Regions from separate parts of the Homo sapiens genome. Here all the other regions are linked to region 1. Evidence: promoter capture Hi-C in 16 types of primary human blood cells and fetal thymus (Javierre and others, 2016). All regions are on one chromosome and are shown on one strand. Each heading gives the region's core, a stretch centred on a gene start or on the middle of the fragment in contact. The rest is flanking DNA. Distances are from core to core; before and after follow the strand shown. Region 1 holds the start of H4C3 (H4 clustered histone 3). Region 2 has its middle 3.9 kb from the start of TRQ-TTG3-3. Region 3 has its middle 11 kb from the start of TRQ-CTG6-1. Region 4 has its middle 4.6 kb from the start of TRV-AAC1-5. Region 5 holds the start of TRS-AGA2-2 (tRNA-Ser (anticodon AGA) 2-2). Region 6 holds the start of H4C9 (H4 clustered histone 9).

Evidence for each region. Contacts are between HindIII fragments. The CHiCAGO score rates a contact against its expected background, and 5 or more counts as called.
Region 2: a contact is called between a fragment that was not itself captured here and the fragment with the promoter of H4C3 in region 1, in 2 of 17 cell types (fetal thymus and total B cells). The highest score is 7.1, in fetal thymus.
Region 3: a fragment that was not itself captured here is called in contact with the fragment with the promoter of H4C3 in region 1 in 1 of 17 cell types (monocytes); the score reaches 5.2 in monocytes.
Region 4: a contact is called between a fragment that was not itself captured here and the fragment with the promoter of H4C3 in region 1, in 2 of 17 cell types (non-activated CD4 T cells and monocytes). The highest score is 6.4, in non-activated CD4 T cells.
Region 5: a contact is called between a fragment that was not itself captured here and the fragment with the promoter of H4C3 in region 1, in 3 of 17 cell types (total CD4 T cells, activated CD4 T cells and monocytes). The highest score is 6.8, in total CD4 T cells.
Region 6: a fragment that was not itself captured here is called in contact with the fragment with the promoter of H4C3 in region 1 in 15 of 17 cell types (total B cells, activated CD4 T cells, naive B cells and 12 more); the score reaches 13.8 in total B cells.

What each region holds. Positions count from the first base shown.
Region 1 is chr6:26,102,537-26,105,231 of GRCh38, forward strand. H4C3 (H4 clustered histone 3) reads left to right here and starts at 1,397. Exons shown (of 1, transcript NM_003542.4): 1 at 1,397-1,801. The coding sequence starts at 1,412. The coding sequence ends at 1,723. RefSeq lists enhancers at 935-1,044, 1,069-1,759. The HindIII fragment of the contact is 10,429 bases long and covers 1-2,695 here.
Region 2 is chr6:27,798,466-27,801,160 of GRCh38, forward strand. No RefSeq gene overlaps it. Among named protein-coding and RNA genes, the nearest start is that of TRQ-TTG3-3, 3.9 kb to the left of the region's middle. The HindIII fragment of the contact is 618 bases long and covers 1,056-1,673 here.
Region 3 is chr6:27,779,080-27,781,774 of GRCh38, forward strand. It overlaps the pseudogene RSL24D1P1. Among named protein-coding and RNA genes, the nearest start is that of TRQ-CTG6-1, 11 kb to the right of the region's middle. The HindIII fragment of the contact is 1,462 bases long and covers 607-2,068 here.
Region 4 is chr6:27,756,703-27,759,397 of GRCh38, forward strand. No RefSeq gene overlaps it. Among named protein-coding and RNA genes, the nearest start is that of TRV-AAC1-5, 4.6 kb to the left of the region's middle. The HindIII fragment of the contact is 2,133 bases long and covers 269-2,401 here.
Region 5 is chr6:27,476,924-27,479,618 of GRCh38, forward strand. TRS-AGA2-2 (tRNA-Ser (anticodon AGA) 2-2) reads left to right here and starts at 1,889; the gene lies at 1,889-1,970. The HindIII fragment of the contact is 1,893 bases long and covers 433-2,325 here.
Region 6 is chr6:27,137,123-27,139,817 of GRCh38, forward strand. H4C9 (H4 clustered histone 9) reads left to right here and starts at 2,160. Exons shown (of 1, transcript NM_003495.3): 1 at 2,160-2,556. The coding sequence starts at 2,187. The coding sequence ends at 2,498. It also overlaps a transcript of H2BC12 not described here. RefSeq lists enhancers at 1,974-2,353, 2,116-2,695. The HindIII fragment of the contact is 264 bases long and covers 1,253-1,516 here.

The DNA of each region.
Region 1 (2,695 bases), core at 147-2,646:
ATTTCAGAGTTTTACTTATGATCTCAGACTCTGCATTTTTTCTCTGTAATGTTTGACATTTCTTCCTAGCTAAGTCTCTAGTTATAAGGTCTGTGTTGTGGCATGTGGACAGTGAGTGGAAGAACCTAAGAACTCAATTTGGGGCAGAAGAATGTAATCAATTATTTCAGAAGTGATACAAACAATATGACATGTAGAGCATTCTGGCCTTTCCTGGGTCTTTTTTCTCCATTCCTGGATTTCTTCTCTTCATGTGAGCAAGTCTGAGGTTACTATATAATGTCTCTCACAGGCCACAGCCCCATTCTAAATATTCCCAATAGAAATTCATTTATTAACCAGAGAGTGGTGGGTGGGGTTGTTTTTGTTTTTTAAACAAAAGTGGATCTTATGGGCATTCTGGAAAGCTCCCGCAGGAAGCTAAGAATAAAATTTTGAATTGAGAAGTCCCTTTCTTCAAACCACATTCAGACCCAATTCTGCTATTCTATTTATTTTTCAAGGGGATTAGCCTTATTTTAACACCAATAATCTTATCACAAAAACCTCCCAGAGGAAGACCCTGTAGATTTTGTAATGACCTTAATCAAGTATTAGCCCTACACTTCAATTAATCCCCAACTGTACAAAACGAATGTTCTTTTCTCTAAAGCTGTAGCAAGTTGAAAGGGGATTAAAAACGGAGGGAAGGGAAGAGTGTTTGGAATTTCAGGCACAGCAAACAGGCACAGCAGACCAGGAAGAGCGTCCCGGGAAAACATATTATCCAGACTTAAGTTTATATTCCCTGTCTCTCTCAGACTTTTGCAGAAAAATGAGTCATTCAACAAATATTTGAATCGAGATAGGGAAAGTGACGAGGAAGAAGTTTGCACTTATGAGGTTTTAATTTGCAATTATTTGGCTACCTTTTTGCCTTCCCAAAACATAGGGTCTTTAGGAGTGAAACTTCATAGCCAAACTTATACCTTGTCCAGCACAGAGAAGGCCATCAAAATGCCTGGTTTAAATAAAAATATTAAAATGATTGGGAGGGTAAATCCCTTGACCTATAAATCTGACCTCCTTTAAACATTATTTGTATGTTCCCCAATAAACTATTCCGTAATTTATTAGTTAGCAAGTGGAAATAAAAAGAAATGTGGAATGGGGCTATGCTTAGCGTCATTAAGCTGACAGGAATACAGCGCATTCAACTTGCAAACACCCTTCCACTCCCACAAAGAGCAAGCTGTCACTGGCCAATCAAAACAATGAACCATAATGAAACAGTTTTTCTTGCTCCACCCACTTGGTGACCAAATTTGAAAAAAAAAAAAAACCGCGCCAACTCATGTTGTTTTCAATCAGGTCCGCCAAGTTTGTATTTAAGGAACTGTTTCAGTTCATACCTTCCACTGCGATAGGAATCATGTCTGGTCGCGGCAAAGGCGGAAAAGGCTTGGGGAAGGGTGGTGCTAAGCGCCATCGTAAGGTGCTCCGGGATAACATCCAGGGCATTACAAAACCGGCTATTCGCCGTTTGGCTCGGCGCGGTGGCGTCAAGCGCATTTCCGGTCTTATCTATGAGGAGACTCGAGGTGTGCTTAAGGTTTTCTTAGAGAACGTTATTCGAGACGCCGTCACCTATACGGAGCACGCCAAGCGCAAAACTGTCACAGCCATGGATGTAGTATATGCCCTAAAACGTCAGGGGCGCACTCTGTATGGCTTCGGCGGCTGAATCTAAGAATACGCGGTCTCCTGAGAACTTCAAAAAACAAAAACAAAAAAACCCAAAGGCCCTTTTCAGGGCCGCTCACAAAGTCGTTTAAAGAGCTGAAATGCGTTGCGAGAATGAGTTTGGATGACAGAAATAACCGTGACATCCTGCATAAGAATGAATTGTGTTTGCCATGACCGGCCACACTGTGACAAAATTTCAAAGCATAAAGTAGGCATAGAGAGGTAAGCGCTAATAAAGTGATTGGCTCCACAAAAAGCATTTTGCTGGGCGCAGTGGCTCACGACTGTAATCCCAGCACTTTGGGAGGCCAAAGCTAGTGTATCACTTGAGATCAAGAATCCGAGACCAGCCTGGCCAAAATGGTGAAACCCCCTCTACCAAAAAAAATACAAAACTTAGCCGGGCGTGGTGGTCTGCACCTGTAGGCCCAGCTAGCCCGGAAGCAGAGATTGCAGTGAGCCGAGATCGCGCCACTCCCCTCCAGCCTGGGAGACAGAGAGAGACTCCTCAAAAAAAAAAAAAAAAAAAAAAAAAAAAATTATGTATTTTAGAGCATTCTAAGAATGGTACTTTGGACTTAACCGAAGGGCTGGAGGCGCGTGTTGAACAAAGGTTATCACCTTTTGGCTCATGCGGCACACAGCTATGTAAATAAAGCATCTTTAGGGACAAGCTCTCATTTGCGGAGGGTTCTATGGCTGTTGTCCTATTGGCCAAAACAAAGTGGTCTAAGTCCGGGCGCGGTGGCTCACGCCTGTATTCCCAGCAGTTTGGTAGGCCAAGGTGGGTGGATCACGAGGTCTGGCGTTCAAGACCAGCCTGGCCAAGATGGTGAAACCCCGTCTACTAAAAATACAAAAATTAGCCGGGCGTGGTGGCGGGCACCTGTAATCCCAGCTACGTGGGAGGCTGAGCCAGAGAACTGCTTGAACCCAGGAGGCAGAGGTTGCAGTGAACCGAGATTGTGCC
Region 2 (2,695 bases), core at 115-2,614, 1.7 Mb after region 1:
AGTTCAATGAGACCTCATTTGTATGCCCTCCTTAAAAATGCAATCTCCAGCTCCCTATCCCCTTTCCTGCTGTATTTTTATCTAAACCACTTATCAAGGTGATGACATGTTATGGAATTTAATCCCACCTCAAAGTACCATAAGAACAGGAATTTTAGCAGGCTATTTTCAGCGTGTATTCTCAATGCTAATATATTGTCTCTCATATATTAAGTGCTCAATAAATGTTTTTTTGGTTAAGTAAGTTAATTTCCTTTAAGCTGGCTGATGGGGTCATATAGAGGTAAAATTACTGGCTCTGAGTGATTTTCCTCACTTATAAATATAATTTGCAGTAATTTCTATATTATTCTTTTCCTCTTAATGCATGGTGATAATTATTTCCCTGTTACATATGTCTTTTTTGTTTGTTTGTTTGTTTGTTTGAGACAGAGCCTCGCTCTGTTTCCCAGGCTGGAGTTCAGTGGCGCAGTCTTGGCTCACTGCAACCTCTGCCTCCCGGGTTCAAGTGATTCTCCTGCCTTAGCCTTCTGAGTAGCTGGGATTACAGGCATGTGCCACCATGCCCAGCTAATTTTTGTAATTTTAGTAGAGACGAGGTTTCACCATGTTGGCCAGGCTGGTCCTGAACTCCTGACCTCAAGTGATCTGCCCACCTCGGCCTCCCAAAGTACTGGGATTACGGGCATGAGCCACCATGCCTGTCCTACATATATCTTATTCATTGTCTTATTCAATCATACAACTTCCTGATAAAATGAGGCTGATTTTCACCCCTATTTTGCTGTTAAGGAAACTGGTATAATGAGTGTCACTGACTTGTTTGTGATCACACAGTGGACAAAATGGCATTTGTTTCTTTGTGGTGATCTCACAAAGGTCAAGATGACCTTAGATCCTCAGTTTTGGCTGTTTTTTTTTTGTTGTTTTTTTGTTTGTTTGTTTGTTTTACACCAAGGAACCAGGTTCTAGCTCCTATGTTTGTTCATTGCATGGAAAGGAACAGGAAGATCTGGGGGCCACTGAATGGAAGGTTAGATCCATTTTCTTGGTTAAGCTTGTAGGTTTTCTCGTCTCTTTTCCTTCCTGCAGCACAATTCTTATGAATGGCAATATCTTCTATTAAAATTCTCAGTCTGTAGTCTTCTTGTCCATACAGAAAATAGATTTCAGGTCAACACATTTGATAGTCTGGACTGTGCTAACTGCTCCAATATTTGAGTACATCTTTTGGGGATGTGGGAATTTAGTGTTGTAGGCCTCAAGTGGGGTTCGTTCCCAGAATTTGGAGAGGCTATAGAAATATAACCTGGTTGGCCAGGCACGGTGACTCATGCCTGTAACCCCATCAATGTGGGAGGCCGAGGCAGGTGGATCACCTGAGGTCAGGAGTTCGGGACCAGCCTGGCCAACATGGAGAAACCCTGTCTCTACTAAAAACTTTTAAAAAATTAGGCGGGCGTGGTGGTACGTGCCTGTAATCCCAGCTACTTGGGAGGCTGAAGTAGGAGAATCCCTTGAACCCGGGAGGTGGAGGTTGCAGTGAGCTGAGATCACACCATTGCACTCCAGGGCAACAGAGTGAGACTCCATCTCAAAAAAAAAAAAAAAAGAAAAAGAAATATAACCTGGCCATAATATAAGCATAAATAAAATAGATGACATTCTTTCAAAGCTTTTCTTAGCCTCTTATGTTTCTCAGATATTAAATAATCGGGCCAGGCACAGTGGCTCACGCCTGTAATCCTAGCACTTTGGGAGGCCGAGGCGGGCAGATTAACTGAGGTCAGGAGTTCAAGACCAGCCTGGCCAACATGGTGAAACTCCATCTCTACTAAAAACACAAAAAATTAGCCAGGTGCAGTGGCACGCGCCTGTAATCCCAGCTACTCGGGAGGCTGAGGCAGGAGAATCGCTTGAACCTGGGAGGTGGAGGTTGTGGTGAGCAGAGATCGTGCCACTGCACTCCAGCCTGGGCGACAGAACGAGACTTCATCTCAAATAAAAATTTAAAAAAAAAATAGTCAAATGCAAAATAAAGTAACATTCCAGCAATTTAATGACAGATATTGAAGCCACCTTTGCAAAATTATGACTGAGACAGAGAAAGAGATGGAATTTAACCAACTCCGTCTTGCTTCTAACCTCCAAGCCATCCTTGTTCATTCCTGGGTGTAGGCTGAACTAATTTAGGGAGAAACTTAGTTTGTAGTTTATAGTTTAAACAAAGATGGTAACAGCCCTTTCCCAAAGCAGACCTCCTTCTTGCCTTGGGACTGGATTGCCTTTGTAGGACTAACATTAGCCACAAGATTAAAAATTATGGCAGCTGGAGGCTACAAGATTCTAACCCTCCCTAACTGCTCCTAAGATCAGTGCTTGAGATATTTTGCAGACGCTGCACTCAAGATGGGTCAGATAGCACCACCCAGATCTATTAACTGGCTCATCTGATCCTGTAGCCCCCACCCAGGAACTGACTCAGCACAAGAAGAGAGCTTCAACTCCCTATGATTTAATCTCTGACCATTCAGCACTCCTGGCTCACTGGCTTCCCCCCATCCACCAAGTTATCCTTAAAAACTCTGCTCCCCAAATGCCCAGGGAAACTGATTTGAGTAATAAAACTCCAGTCTCCTGCACAGCCAGCTCTGTGTGAATTACTCTTTCTCTATTGCAATTCCCCTGTCTTGAT
Region 3 (2,695 bases), core at 88-2,587, 1.7 Mb after region 1:
TTTACCTTTTGTTATACCTTTAACTTTTGAAAGCATGTGAATGTTTTACTTTTTTTTTTTTTAACGGAAGAGGTTCTCTGTGTGAACATGTTGACTAAATACAAAAGGGTTATAAAAGGTCTTTGCTTCTTTAAAATTTCTGAGTCATCGTTTTGGCAAAATAAATAACTTATAGCAATCTGGAATTCCCAAAATCAAACATCGGTTTCAAAAATCTCTTCCCTGGCACCTGGCTTTTTGAATACTTCAGCGGGCCCCTGAAGTGTCCAGAAAAGACAGGTAAACAGGATTATTTGACACGTTTAGGTACATGGGATTGCCAAAATGATGCTCAATCTTCTTTAGGCTATATTTTTGTGAATAATACTAATATATATTTCAAAATTGTATGGGATTTCTAAAATAGTATAAGCTATTAATTATAGTTATGTTAAGTTATTGTAAACTGCAGAAACAACCAAATTTTCTTGTATAAAGCTACTAACCCAAGTAAAACAAAAACTTAATTAAATATCAAGAAAATAATTTCATGTTAAACCAGCTAATACTGAAATTGTTTAAAATAGTTTATAACCAATGCTTGATGCCATATTCCTGGGAAAACAAAGCTTCAGATATGTTTGGTCACGTGGTCGCCCATTTAAACATTTTATAAAGGAATTTTATTCATTTGTTATTTTCTTTTTCTGTTTATTTTTTCTTTTTAAATGGTTTCATTTTATGTGCAAATAATGAACAGATGTTATACTCATAAATTCTACTTTCCAAAAACAGGAGCTTTTTAAAAGAAAACCATATAATAACTTTTAAAAGGCACTGGGATTCCTCTGCTTCTAGAACATTGCTAGGCTAGAAAAATAAAGTTTGTTCTACCAGCAGTCACAAGTTAGAACTGAGTATTCTCCAAAATGGAAATTCTAGAGTGTAGTGTCACTCCAGGCAAAGATTATTCAGTTCTCATCCCCAATATCCACAACTACCTATCAGAAGGGTTAAACCAGGTCAAAACAGTCCAGAATAATTAGGCTTCATCAAACAATGTCATTGTGCTCTTCTAAGATACAAATAAACCAAAACAGGAAATACTAAAATCAAAATAACATTTGACACTGTTATACAAATTGTTAGTTCCTTGTTGTATCCCCCCTTCTGTAACGTTAATAAACGGAATATTTTATTGCAAAGAATATTTTATTTTATACATCACTAGCCATGAATTTTTGCCATTAGTTGTTATACAAATGCTGCCTAGTGCCATTATCCAAATAGCATAACCATTTTACATCCACAATTCACTTCTATAGTTAGAAGTAGAATTTTCATGATTTACATACGTACATCTATCAGTGAAGATTTAACACTGAGATGCAATCTAACATTCGTAATATCTGATGTTTTGCAGATGTCAATGTAGGAAAGATATGTTTTAATCACTTTTCATTTAAGTGACCTTATGTAAAAAATAAACTAATAATTTAGCAGTTCCAAGTCTGTAAAGGACATTTTCAAATGTACATAAAAGAAATGGTTACAGAGATTTTTAAGATGTGTTTTCCATGCCTACATGCTCTTGTAACTGCTGTACCATTTTCTCTTCCAGCTGCTTCTCTTTGCCTGCAAGAGGGGCTTGAATAAGATGGATGTTTTGCTTGACTTCTTTGATATCCTGAACTTTCTGTAGCTCTTTATTTTTATTCAGTCTGTTCATTATAAATTTAGCTTGGCATTTCTGTTTGATTTCTTCAATTTGCTTCATTGCATCAATAGTTTTATTCCATAGCTCTCGCTGGTATTTGATAGGTTCATTTCTACGTTTTTCAAATTCAAATGAATTATCCACTGTAAGCTCTTTACCAGCTGCATTCTGGAATGCTTTGATCCACCTAGCTTTGCGAGGACTGCACTTCTTTTAAAAGTTTTTATGACATTTAGATTTACAAAATCTGAACAACTTGCAATTGTTGTGGACGAACATCATGCCGTGACCAGGGTAGATGGGCCCTGAACAGAAATAACACTTCTCAATACACATGTTGAACCCACGTGGGTCCCCACCAAGCAAACACCAAGCTTGAGAGCTCATTTGTTATTTTCAGTGCATGTTTTCTGGTTGTATAAAAGGTTTCCTATGCAAGAGGGCTGATGTTATAACAGTAGATTACTACAGTGTATTTTCAACAGGCAAAGAAAGCTTTTTATGATTTGAATCTTCTAGAAGCATCAGAGAAAGACTGTTCTTGCCATTCACACTACAACAAAACTTTGGGATCTTGAACTTTGAGTTCATAATCTCACAACTGAGAAGGGTCCCTCCAAGCTCTTGGAGCTGTGTGCCCACTGGAACCCTTAAGGTAAAATTAACCAAAGAAATTTCTCCCAAGAGGAGAATGGCATCCTTACTATGAACAGCTTTTCTCACGTTCACAGATTAAGACTTCTACTGTCGTGAAACTTATCTTCGAATATTTTTTGTTGCTTATGCCTCTACAAAAAAATAGAAGTGGAAAAGGTGTCTGTTATGTGCACTTATGGTGTATACTCTTACTTGCGAAGGAGTTTGTAACCAGCTTTTTAAATGGGTAAACTTATACTTTGATAGATAAAAGATGAAGGCCCAATGTAGGTAAGAAACTTTAAAGGTACATGCTTTGCCTCATAATCAAAAACAAAACATTGGTTCACTCCTCTTAACCCA
Region 4 (2,695 bases), core at 85-2,584, 1.7 Mb after region 1:
GTAGTTAATGAGGAAATTTGTTGAGCTGTTCTCCCCTGGGCGGGAGAGATGCCATGCAGGGAGTCCTAAGCTTCCCATTGTCCCTCAGATCAGTAAAGAAGACCAGCCCTAAGCTGCTGACCACAGGTTCATGGGACTCTTCTGAGGGAATGTGAGGCCCAGAACTTACGCTAGTGATTCTCCAGGTGGACTATTCCTAAGATTCCTTGCCATACCCCCTTCTAGTGCAGAGGGTCTCTGGTATGGCCCACAAGTCTTAATTTTTAGAAGCTTCCAGGTGATTCAGAAGCTGAGGACCTTTGGGAAGATTTTGACAATCCTTTCATTAATGACAAATTTGTTTCATCTTAAAAAACAAAACTTCATCCTTGTATGTGTGGAGGAGGACACTATAGTGAAATTAAAGAAAAAAAAAGTCAAATTATCTGCTCCCTCCATCTACCTGAGGTTTTCTTGCTTGGCATTTGCAAAGAAATTGGGCGCATGGGTGAATACTTTGATTGCTATAAAGAGTAGAGTTTGGCCGTTGATTTTAGTACACTAAAAGTGCAAGGGCAAGAAACATACCAGCACCTTGACAGTTTCTGGGAAGAAACTTAACGGCACCTTCTGGACCCAATCTGCGTGGCGCAGTGGCCTAAAGAGGCGACCGAACCTGCATCCCTAGCTCCGCCTTCCCGGTCCCTGCACACCCCGGCAGCTTCCGCGCGATTCTTCCCGCCCCCGACACCCGCCGCCACACAAAGGCGCTGCGTCCTGGCGGCCAGCGGGGGCTTAGTCTAGGCCCGGCAGGGTTTTCTGGAAGACCAGAGGGCCACCAGGTCACCGAGGTGGGAAGTGAAGAGAGGTTCGACGCTGCCTCAGGCCTGGGCCTGGCCGGTGGGAGACACAGCAAGGACTCTGGGAGCCTGCAGAGCAGAGGCCGCCGCGGGGCCGGGCCCCCGTCTCCTCCTCAGGTCCAAGACCAGAGGGTCTGCAGGGCCCCAGAGCAGCTGGCCGCGCTCCGCTTCCCACCGCGCTCTCTGCTGGAACTCATGTGGTTGTTTATCCTTATTTTGCTAAATTTCTTTATTTGCTGTAACAGTTTGTGTGTGTGTGTGTTTGAGTGTGTGTGTGTAATTTTCAGGGTTTTCTATATATAAAAATCATGTCACGGCCAGGCTTGGTGGCTCACACCTGTAATCCCAGCACTTTGGGAGGCCAAGGTAGGAGGATCGCCTGAGCCCAGGAGTTCGAGACCAGCCTGGGCAACACGGGCAACATAGCGAGACCCTAGTCTCTAAAATTTTTTTTATTAGCCGGGCATGGTGGCAGGCGCCTGTGGTCCCAGTTACTCCGGAGGATGAGGCAGGGTAATCGCTTGAACCAGGGAAGTCGAGGCTTCAGTGAGGCATAATTGCTCTGCTGCATCCCAGCCTGGGTGACAAAGAGAGATCCCATCTCTCTCTCAAAAAAAAGTCATGTTATCTGTGAACATAGATAATTTTACTTTTTCCTTGCCAATACTGTGCTGAATAACATGGTGAAAGTGGGCACCCATTATTCCTGATTGTAGGAGAAAAATTTTCAGTCTTTCGCTGTTGAGAATGATATTAGTTGTATGTTTTTCATAATTGGGCATTATCAAGTTGAGGAAGTTTCCTTCTATTCCTGGTTTACATTGTGTGTGTGTGTGTGTTTTGTTTGTTTGTTTTGACAGAGTCTTGCTCTGTCACCCAAGCTGGAGTGCAGTGGCCGCGATCTCGGCTCACTACAGCTTAGACCTCCAGGGCTCAAGCAATCCTTCGACTTCAGCCTGCCAAGTAGCTAGGACCATAGGCGTACAGCACCACATTTAGAAGTCCCTGAGAAAATTATCTTGGAGGAAAACTCGCAAGTCCGACTATTGGTTTTCCAAGGAAGCCAGTCTCGCCTGTGAGGAGGGATCCTGCTCGCCCTGGGAGCCTACTCAGACACCATGGGGAATGGGGGGTGGGGCTCAGAGCGCGCAGGCTTGGTTTTTTTCCCCCTCCGAACTCCTGAGTTCCAGTGATCTGCCTGACTCAGCCTCCCACAGTGCTGGGATTACAAGTGTGAGCCACTGCGCCTGGCCTATTACTTGTTTTAATAATAACAAAAAACAGCAAAATCTTGCAGAAGGTTGGAAGGTAACCAAGCAGCTTAGCTTCAAACCACGTTTTAAAAACTTTGTTTCTTTTCTTCTTTCTCCCCAGTTTCTAGACATAGCTTTGAGACAAACTGCAGATGTGCTTTCTTTTGTCGTCAATTACTGCCTTGGAATGGGCATTAAAACTGCCTTCCCTTTCGCATCTTATGCCCCCATGCCTTATGCTCATTTATTTACCTGGATGCTTGTTAAGCTCATACCATGCCCACTTATCTGGTCATATATTTCCTTAGAAGCTTCAGGGGCTGAATCCTGATGCAGACCAGACATCTCCAGAATTCTCTCTCCAGTAGGAGATTAATTCAAGGACAATATTCACTCTTGGCTAGAGATTATCTGCAAGATTGACTGTCATTAATTTGTAACTTGATTGGGCCTACAATGTCACTGGCCCCTTCACCAGGTGAAACAATAATTCAAGATAAGCCATCAGAATGAGACACCCACTGGGCACCTCCTGCCTCTTGCCCCTCTGCATTACAAGCTCCTCTCCTTGAAATGCTTGGCCTCTCTCCAGAAATTGGAGAG
Region 5 (2,695 bases), core at 129-2,628, 1.4 Mb after region 1:
GTGATATGCATTAACTATGAACAACAATCTATAGCACAACTTATATTTGTATGGACACCTGGCTACCCCATCAAACTGCTTCATGTCTATTCCCTCAAATTATGGTCTTCCATAAAACTAGTGAATTTCTTTTAGTCTTCTTTTGAGCCTGTAGGGGTGAGAGAATCTTTTTTCTCCCTTCTGGAGGTTGGATATTTGAGTCTGAGAAATAAAGCTGCTAGTAGACAGATTAACAGAAGAAAAGGCATACACATTTATTATGCACATATGCACAGAGGTCCCAGAAAGTGTAAGTGAGACTCAAAGAAGGGGCAGATGGTTGAAGCTTAAATAGGACTTGGAGCTACATAAAGAAATAGGAGCTTGAAGGCTCCTGGAAGGTGGTGGCGAGAAGCAATGTGAGGGTCAGGGCAGGAACAGCTCTGGGAACAAAGCTTGTCTTATTATACAGATAAAGTCTCTCAAGTAGCAGCCCTCAGAATAGGTGGTGAAGAAAAGAATTGAAGTCTGGCTGGGCGAGATGTCCCGGGCATGGAGACCTTTAGTTTTCTCTCCTGGGATCTGAGTTAATCTTCTCTGGTTAATACAGATTCCAGGAGAGGGTTCATGACAATCTCTTTCCTTCTGGAGGAACCTCCGTAAGTCAAATAAGGGAAACTTCAGTGAAAGCCCCTCCCTGCCATTCAAGAAAGAAAGAGGATCAGGAGGCAGTGGGGCTGCGGAAGGTCAGAGAGACTTTGATTCTGAGGTTGCTTCTTTAGTTCAAAGTACTCAGCACTTCCAAGAGCCATACTTTGGGGTATCATTTTCTGAGCTCTAACAAGGGTCCTCAGAAAATCTCTGTCTCTTCCCTTCCCGGTCTTCCTTCGTTTCTCCTCTTCCTCTTCCTCCTCTTCTTTCTCCTTCATCCTCTTCTTTCTACCTCCTGTCCCTCCTTCCTTTCTCTCTTCTCCTTTCTGGTCACTTTCTTCTTTTCCTCTTCCTTCTTGTCCCTCTTCCTCATTTATCTACTTAGTCGACATGATTTCTTAGCTTGCGATTGTTTCCCTCTTTTCTTAGATTAGTATATGGTTCCAAGAAGTAGATGAAAGCCAATTACAATAATCTGTGCATCCAAAGGGCTCAGGGAAACTCCAGGACCGGCAGCTTTAGACTTCAAGACGGAAGCATAAGAGGAAAAGAAAACATACTGCGTGGGTTAGATTTTGAGAGAAGGAGCGTCTGCCTTGGCCAAAAATCAAAGTAGGATCTTCCTTTTGATAGGTAACCTGGTTCCATGGGAACTCATGAACAATCTATAAATTTCTTTCTTAACCCAACTGAAGCGTGGAAGCGCATTGTGAAATGCAAAATGCCGTGCAAACGAGACCGGGTAGATATACTCCCTTGGGTTGGTGTGAGCCTAGAGACTTAGGGACCTCATCAGAGCAAGAAAGTGCAAGTAGGCTTTTCTGCATCATTTTCTGGCCCTCCAGTTCAGACACAAATCAAAAGTTAGTCCCTTCTTGAAAGCCATTAGCATTCATCAAGGAGCCTCAATGAGAGGAAGTTTCAAACAAAAACTAAATGTGTCAGGCCCAGATTTACGGTGAGGGTCTGATTCCACTTCCTTGCGGGGTCAGTTTGGGTCCAGGTGAGAGAGGTACAGTGGTCTCTAGTTTTCTGGAAACGGTACTGCTGATAGGGCAAGGACTCCTTGCGGCTGCCCCAGAGAGGTTGGCTTGTCTTATCCAACTTGCACTTCACGTTAGAGTTTCTAATGAACTCGCAGACTCCAGTTTCTTGCCCAGGAAACCATTTTTACCGTATTTTGTTCTTTTGACCGTTTCTTGTCAGTTAGCTGGTGTAAATTCTGTTTAAAGATGTGAAGGGAGCCTTCTCCATTCGTGTAGTCGTGGCCGAGTGGTTAAGGCGATGGACTAGAAATCCATTGGGGTCTCCCCGCGCAGGTTCGAATCCTGCCGACTACGGGATGTTTTACTGAGAACAGTTCAGCGAGGAAATAGGATCTCACATTTGCTTTCAGTTTGGGAGTAAAGAAACTCGTGATAGAGCCTCTGCGTGTCACCTAACATAGCCTGAACTTTTGCCGACTTCGGGATGTTTTACTGAGAACAGTTCAGAGAGGAAATACGATGTCATATTTGCTTTCAGTTTGGGAGTAAAGGAACTCGTAATAGAGCTTCTGCGTGCCACTTAACGCAGCCTGAACTTTTGCCGACTTCGGGATGTTTTACTGAGAACAGAGAGGAATCGTATTTACTTCAGAGAGGAAATACGATGTCATATTTGCTTTCAGTTTGGGGGCGAGGGAACTCGTGATAAAGCTTCTGCGTGCCACTTGACGCATCCTGAACTTTAAAAATACATCTGCAGACTCTTTATCTATTTTACCTCAACGGAGCGCAGGTATTGGTCCCACCTCTGCTTTTCCTGTCTTTGAAACCAACCGATGCACCTTTCGGGATTTGTAACTCCTATGTTAGCTAGGGCTCCAACCATGGTTGAACATAGACGGAAACCAGTGCGTCACAAAGGAGGCTAGCGAGAGTTCTTTTTTAAAAGGGTCTGACAAAGCGTCCGAGGAATGAAGGAGGAACTGGAGAGGATTCGCGGTTGGGCGGAGACACGTTCGCTGAATTGCCTTGCGTATATTTGGTAGGGGAAACGTGTGACTACAGAGCAAAGAAAGATG
Region 6 (2,695 bases), core at 135-2,634, 1.0 Mb after region 1:
TTTTGGGATGGCATGCTCTGCCACCTTTTACCATTCATTGCTATCCTTGTCACTAATTGCTATGCGAAAACTCATGAAATCAGATACAGAAAAAGGCTTCTGATTAGTGAGAAGCTCAAGTAGAGAAATATACTTGTTAACTAATGTTGGGGAAATACAATTTTAAAATCTTCTCCCAAAGAAGACAAAGGAAATAATTTTATTATTGAATAAGCATTAAACCAGGGAGAGTTGCTTATCACAGGAAACCTTATGAAGAGGTTGCAAAAGCAGAAAGAAATCTTGCTTATTATGTATGGCTACATTGGATAGGTTTTGCAATTCGAAGTCAGGTGACAGCTAAAGTTCAGCCCATTTTCTCGCTGGAAACTGGGAGACAGACCACTATCTTTTTTAATGATTAACATTTCAAAGGGATGGCTCTCCAGGCATTGAGAAAATATTCTGAGTTATAAGGCCTATTTAGCCATTAAAAGGATTTACATACATTTTAAAAGGACAGAGAAAGACATTTTGAAAGTGATGGGAAAGGAAAGGGAAGTCTTTTGTTTTCAACAGATAATTAAGCCTCTCATTTTTAATTTGTATTTACCCTTAGATTAACGTATTCAATTAACCTATGCTACCTTACCCTCTTTACAACATATACTGAATTCAGCTACAGCAAGTTACAGCCAGTCATATCAATTTTTTTTTGTTTTCCAAAGGTGTATGGCAAGTTTTCTTTTATTGCAACATAAATGCAAAAATTTCTAAAGTATTTTAATGAAAAGTTTATCTTCATTTACTTTATGACATTTAAGTGGAATACTTTGAAAATACTTCAAGCACTGCTGTAAGGTACTCATTAAAATAAAGAGTAGCAAGAAAATCACCAAATGGGCCGGGTGCGGTGGCTCATATATTCAGTATATGATAATAAGTTCCTCAAATCAGTGGGGGAAATAGTTAATGTATTGTGCTGACTAACCAACTGATTAACTTTTTGAAAAGTTATTTCTATATACAAGAAATCAAGTCCTTATTAGTAAAGTTAGATTACTTTAAATGGTTCTACCCAGCATTAGTTAAGGTTGTAGGCATATCAGGAACTGCTACTGGTGCAGGGGCCAAGAGAAAACCTCCCTTTTGGCCTCTGAAAGTTCACTGAAAATCAACTGACAAGATTAATAAGAGAAAAGGCATACAAATTTATTAAGGTACAGGGCTGAGGACCACAGAATATTACCCCAACCCCCCAGTGGGGTACAGAAGCTTATATACTCTTTCTCAGAGGCAAAAGAGGAGATGGGTAATGTAGACAATTCTTTGAGGAACAGTAAATGATTATTAGAGAGAAGGAATGGACCAAGGAGACAGAAATTAACTTGTAAATGATTCTCTTTGGAATCTGAATGAGATCAAGAGGCCAGCTTTAGCTTGTGGAAAAGTCCATCTAGGTATGGTTGCATTCTCGTCTTCTTTTCTGCAGTAGATAATGAGGTAACCGAAGGCAATTGTGCTTCTTTTGATAAGAAGCTTTCTTGGTCATATCAGGAAATTCCAGAGAAAGTCCCTCCCTGTATTTGGGGAAGAGAAACAGGACAAAGTTAGAGGGACCTTGATTCTTAGACTTGTTTCTGAGAACCCTCAATTTTCAAAAACACCCACCATTACCAAGCTCGATATTTGGGGGGATAATTCTCCACCCCAAACACTAGAAATGAAAATAAGTAGAAAAGAACTTAGCAATATACCTGAACGATCTTTAAATTCTATGAGTCTATCTTGTTCTATTGCTAGGAATTTAGCATATGGAGTATATTTCCATTGTATATTAAGGAGAAAAATGCCACAAAATAGCATAGTTCCATACAAATAATGTTAAAGGAAAACATGCATATATGCAGAGATAACATTCTTTTTGCTTTATGTATCTTCTATAATGTTAACATTTTTGTTATGAGGCAGGAATCATGTTAAATGAAAAAAGGAAAAACAGCCTAGGTCTTGAGGATTAAAAAGGACTGAAGGAGAACAAGAGGGAGTAGAGCACAGCAGGCCTGTTTCCCTTTTAGGTCCCCTCCCCCAATGCAGAGGGACTTCCCGCCAAAGCTCTTCCGGTTTTCAGTCTGGTCCGCAGAGGTTACCCATAAAAGAAAGCTGCCATCACAGGCAGCAGACCTTTGTTCTCTGACCACTTGATAATGTCAGGACGCGGCAAAGGAGGTAAGGGCCTGGGGAAAGGGGGTGCCAAGCGCCACCGCAAGGTGCTGCGCGACAACATCCAGGGTATCACCAAGCCAGCCATTCGGCGCCTTGCTCGCCGCGGCGGCGTGAAGCGCATTTCTGGCCTCATCTATGAGGAGACCCGCGGAGTGTTGAAGGTGTTCCTGGAGAACGTGATCCGGGACGCCGTGACCTACACGGAGCACGCCAAGCGCAAGACGGTCACCGCCATGGACGTGGTCTACGCGCTCAAGCGCCAGGGCCGCACCCTCTATGGCTTCGGCGGCTAAATGGCATTTTGAAGCCCAGTCATTCTCTAAAAAGGCCCTTTTTAGGGCCCCTAAGCTTTCAACAAAAGAGTTGAAATGACTGCAAACTGAGTCTCTTAATAGGGCCATTGTCAGTGAGTTCTGTCATCCTATTTTACAAGATTAACTCGACGCCGAAAATGGGCTGATGACTACAGGTGACCTTGGGCCGAGATTTT